2 separate regions of the Homo sapiens genome follow, and region 2 is linked to region 1. The links are contacts of gene promoters, found by promoter capture Hi-C in human tissues and cell types (Jung and others, 2019). All regions are on one chromosome and are shown on one strand. The core of a region is centred on a gene start or on the middle of the fragment in contact, and the rest is flanking DNA. Distances in the headings are between cores, read along the strand shown.

The links. The method cuts DNA at HindIII sites, captures the fragments that hold promoters and counts their contacts. A contact is called where the count stands out against the background at its distance.
Region 2: a fragment that was not itself captured here is called in contact with the fragment with the promoter of SGPL1 in region 1 in 2 of the 25 tissues and cell types used here (IMR-90 fibroblasts and mesendoderm cells).

The regions. Positions count from the first base shown.
Region 1 is chr10:70,814,581-70,817,280 of GRCh38, reverse strand. SGPL1 (sphingosine-1-phosphate lyase 1) reads right to left here and starts at 1,333. Exons shown (of 15, transcript NM_003901.4): 1 at 1,155-1,333; 2 at 401-470. The coding sequence starts at 427. RefSeq lists silencers at 918-1,027, 1,108-1,197, 1,218-1,537. The HindIII fragment of the contact is 13,423 bases long and covers 1-2,700 here.
Region 2 is chr10:70,577,611-70,580,310 of GRCh38, reverse strand. No RefSeq gene overlaps it. Among named protein-coding and RNA genes, the nearest start is that of PRF1, 24 kb to the left of the region's middle. The HindIII fragment of the contact is 7,004 bases long and covers 1-2,700 here.

The DNA of each region.
Region 1 (2,700 bases), core at 84-2,583:
TCGGGAGGCCAAGGCGGGTGGATCACCACAGGTCAGGAGTTCAAGGCCAGCCTGGCCAACATGGAGAACCCCGTCTCTACTAAAAATACAAAAATTAGCCGGGCGTGGTGGCGTGCGCCTGTAATCCCAGCTACTCAGGAGGCTGAGGCAGGAGAATCGCTTGAACCCAGGAGGCAGAGGTGGCGGTGAGCCGAGATCATGCCACTGCACCCCAGTCTGGGCAACAGAGTGAGACTCCGTCTCCAAAAAAACAAAACAAAACAAAACAAAATAAAAGGTGGCAAAACGCTCAGCTACCAAAAGCAAGCATCAGAGGTGAAATCTACACACTGGGATCCTTTGGACTAAAAAAACGGAGACAAATGCCTTGGAACCAGGAGGATGTCTGCAAAAGGCTCACCAACATCAGAAGGTCTGTGCTAGGCATCTTCCTCTTCCAGCCTCCTCTCCGCGCTCCCCTTTTTCAGACTCTGTAAAAGGGAACCAGGTTTGTTTACTTCTAGAGCTTTAAACTGTCTCGCCAGCCCGCCTAGATTCGCCAGAGCAGCCAAGTTATGGTTCTCTCCCTCCTTTGAAGGCTCAGATTTCATTCCCAGATATCACAGTCCACCCCTAGCACCCCAGACCAGCGAATCAAAATCCTGCTGCAACTAGGTTTCCCTCCCACAGCTGATGAAACTAATCCAGACCCAGACTCCCACAAAGCATTCCACCCAGGTGGAAACTAGGGGAAACGCCCCGTCTGCGCGCGATCGGGGTGGGGAGCCCAGCCCAGGCCACCTAACCCGGGCTGAAGGTGCCGAGGCTACCAGGGTCCTGCCTCCTCCGCACTCCCTTCAGAATCAGCACGGCCTCGCTCTCGTTGTCACCCCTCCCGTCGGAGGACCAGCAAATCCTGGCCGCCCATGCCTACCCCGCGGCAGGCGTGGGCTCCAGACCCGCCCCACCGCGGCCCCGCGCCCGCCCGCCGTCCACTTGCTTGGACCTCAGCGGCTGGTGCCCACGCCTTCAGCCCGCCCCCGCCCCCGCCCCGGCCGCAGCCGCCCCGCCGCCTCTGCCCGCCCTCGGCCCACCCGGCCCCTGTCCTCTCCTCACCCCGCGGCGCCTCCGTCCCGACCCTCACCGCCCCCCGGAGCCCGCGGCGGCCCCTCCACCTCCTCACGCCGGAACCAGCTTCCAGTCTCCTTCCCTCGAGCACCCGGCCGGCTCCACCTCCTGCGTCTCCCTCAGCACGCGACGGACTCGCAGGCCGCGAGACCCAGGCTCCCCTGTTGCCGCCGCCGCCGCCGAGATTGGAGGCCCGGCAGCCGCCGGCCTCGCCCCTCCCGGAAATGGCTCCGGGGGCACCGGCCCGGCTCCCGGACCCTGGCGTGCGCGGCCCCGCTGCTACCAGCCGCGCGCACGCCCAGACCCGGGCCCCACGGCCTGTGCGCGCCGCCTACCGGCCAGGCAGCGGGCTGCACCCAGACCCTCCAGTGAATGTCTCAACCAGGCCGTCCTGGGGCGGCTGTGGTATCCCGACGGTCACCAACTTCTCTTCCAAACTGCCTTGGACAAAAAACTTTCTTGTCACATTTGGTCACTTGGAGCCTCCTGAGAGAGTAGGTCTGCAGGGCATTGTACAAACTAATCCAAAACAGCCACAGAGTTGGGTCTCTTTCCTGGGCCAGGGACTTCATTTTTCCATCGAGGTCAGTGGTGCCTGAAGAAAAGCAACAAGGAAACTTATTTAATGGAAATATCATCCTCATCCTCCCCTCCACCACTGCCCCCCCCCACCCCAAAAATAAAATGGAGAGCAGAGGCTACTCTGCCATCACTACTTTCATGAGCAGTGCTGGGAATCACCTTATACACAAGTGCAAGGGCCCACTGGGATCACAAAGGTCGCCTTCATTTCCAGATGAAAAAACTAAGTCTCAGCTGGGTGTAGTGGCTTACATCGGTAATCCCGGCACTTGGGGATGCTGAGGCGGGAGGGTTGTCTGAGCCCAGGAGCTCTAGATCAGCCTGAGCAACATAGTGAGACCCCCAACTCCAAAAAGAAAAAGAAAAAACTAAGTCTCACATAGGTTTCCCATGACTTGTCCAGGTTGTCATAACATTGCTTTAGTGGTAGCAGAAGGCAGTGCAGTTACATGGAACCAACTGGTCAGTGACCTGCATTCAAGATTTTTTTTCAATAGATTTTAAAATGACACCTAGATAGACTCTTGAAATCTCTCAAACAAAAATGACACTAATGAGGGTACCCAATTCCATCCCCTTGGAAAATGTTGCCATGACACTAAAATTAGGGCATCATCACTACCGTCATTATCCACATGTAGTGCTTTCAGGATGAAATGTACTATCACAGCTGCCCTCCTCTGCATACCCCATCGGCACTTCCCACTTCCCCAGCCATAATGGTTAAGGCCCTGAAAGACTATGAACAGGTTATCTTTAGGCCTCCTCACCCCCATTCCGTCAGAACTCCCAGACATTTCTACCATCCAGAGCCCCTGACTCAGGCATGAACACCCCCATACCCTTAGCCCCCTCACTACTATTCCCCAGCAGACATGCATTCTCAGTGTTTGAGGGTCAGAAAATGTTCTGGGGCCTCCTGCCAATGCCTACTCATCAAGAGTTGCTTTAGGGTTTCAGGTATGCCTTCCCATTCTCCATCTCCTACCCTTCTGCTTTAATTCTTCATCA
Region 2 (2,700 bases), core at 140-2,639, 240 kb after region 1:
AAAATACCAATGAGATTTTTAAATAGAAGTCCATATGCTGGTTCTAAAATCCATTTGGAAATGAAAGTACACTGGAACACTCCAGAAGTATAGAAGAATGAAAAAGAAAGAATGAATGAAAGAAGGAGAGAATGAGGATGGGAGACAGAAGGAGGAAGGGAGAAAGAACAAGAACTTGAGAAGACCTCGAAAAAAATCAATGGAGAGACTAGAGTACACATATAGAATATGTCTGCCTTGCAATGACAGAAAACCCAACCCAGCTCACTTAAGCACAAAAGGATCTGGGTTGTCAGTTAAAAGTTTTGTGGGCATAGGGGTAACCTGGCTCTAGACATGATGGGGTACAGCAGCTAAAGGGCAACAGCAGTTGCCTCAGCTCAATTCCACTGGCCTTGGTGTGTTGGTTTCATTTTCATATTTGTTTTCACCTTGTGGCTGTGTGACAACTGTAGCCACGTCTGGCCTCTCCCTTTTAAGTTCCACAAGAATAGTTAACACTCTTCCAGTCACTCAGAAAAATGCCAGGGATAAGCTCTGATTGGGTGTAATTGGCCGGCTGAGTCACATGGCCAGCCCTGGGCCAATGGCAGTGCCAGGACAATGAGATGCACAAATTGGCTCAAGCCTTGGTTCTTGTTCCTGCTGGGGATGGGGAAAATCAGACATGGTTACCAGAAGGATGAATGGAGGCCAGGAGCAACAACAACCCCGTGTCTACTCTATGGACTCAGGTATAAGTGCTTACTTCACATATGATGAAAACCATAGTTCCAGTAAGGGGGAAATGTGGCTATTCCATAAATAATGTAGGCCAGCCTGGTGCAGTGGCACATGCCTGTGGTCCCAGCTACTTGGGAGGCTGAGGCAGGAGGACTGCTTGAGGCCAAGAGGTCAACACCAGCCTGAGCAACATAGCAAGATCCCATCTCTAAAATAATAATAACAAATAATAATAAATGTGGGCCAACTGGATATCCATTTTGGAAAAAAAAAATACACTATCTCATGTCATTCACAAAAGTTTATTCCAGATGAATTAAAGCATTAAACATAAAAGACAACACTGTAGAAATATTCAAAGAAAACATAGGAAAGAGATCTAGAACCTTGGGTAGGGAAGGCTTGCTTACACAAGTCAAAAAACACACCATGTATAAATTGAACAACTTCTCTATGAAAAAATACACTAAAAACGTTACAAGACCTGAGACAAACTGGGAGAAAGAACTGACTGTATATCTATCTACCTACCCACAAAACAAATTATATTAAAATTTTATGCCTGTTAATTAAAAAAAGACAATCTAGCAGAAAAATGGGCATATACATAACAGAATAAATTCAAATGGCCAGTAAACATATGAAAGGATGTTCCAACCTCATTACTAATCTGGAAAAGTCGAGTTAAGGTAAAAATAAAAGACTTTCTTTCTTATCAGATTGGCAAAAATTAAAAGGATTGGCGACCTCAAATGTTAAGGCAGGAATGGGGAAATGGATACTTTCATAAACTGTGAAAGGCTATGAGTGTTTAATTCAGCTTAGATGCCGTCATTTAGTTCAAAGAAAGAATAACAATTACTTTTGAAGGGCAAAGACACTGTGCAGGTTTGTTGATGGTGAGGTGGGCGGATGTGGGAAAAGGAAAGAATAGCCAAGAGGGGGTGCAAAGTGAAACTCAGAAGGCCCATAGATAATCTACCAGTGTGACTCAGAGAACACAAGCCATTTCCCATTCTTGTGGCTGTAGAGGGGAACCTCTTGAAAGTACACAGGGGTTTAAATAACATCAAGTCAGAGAACCACAAGAATTTGACGGAGGGCTTTCAAAGTCATCATGCTTTCCCCTTAGTCTCCTCCCCGAGTCACCCCAGCCTGGGCACTCTTCCAGGATCTACCTTTCTCTCCTCTCAACCTGTCATCGAAAATGGCAGAGAGGATTACCATATCCAGCCCTGAAACAAGCAAGGATTTGGCATCAGACACGGGTATCTCTAGCTGTAAAATAACACCTTGTGGTATTGTTGGAGGGTTGAACGAGATGATGACTGTAAAAGAAACCAGATATAATGCTTGACAAAGTAAGTAATCTAATAAAGGACATCATAAAATAAGCAAAGGTTATTGATCTGAAGCTAGGTCAGCTCCAGCATAGACTGAGACACACAGGAATGGAGAGGACAGGCTCTAAGACAGCATGTATATCTAATGGTATTTTAAAGCTAAAAAATAAATGCAACATATATGATAAAGTTATCATCTTAACAAATCAATAGGAAAGGGGTCAAGTGTGGTGGCTCACCCTGTAATCCCAACACTTTGGGAGACTGAGGTGGGAGAATCACTTGAGCCCAGAAGTTCAAGACAAGCCTGGCCAACATAGTGAGACCCCATCTCTACAAAAAAAAGAAAATTCAAAAATTAGCCGAGTGTGGTGGCATATGCCTATAGTTCCAGCTCTGGAGGCTGAGGTGGGAGAATCACTTGAGCCTAGGAGGTCGAGGGTGCAGTGAGTTATGATTGCACCACTGCACTCTAGCCTGGGTGATAAAGTAAGACCCTGACCCAGAAGCAGCATAGAATTTAAAAAAGAAAAAGAAAAGAAAAGAAAGAGAAAGGGAGAAAGGGAGAAGAAAAGGAGAAAGGCAGAAAGAAAGAAAAAGAGAGAGAGAGAAAGAAAGAAAAAGAGAGAGAGAG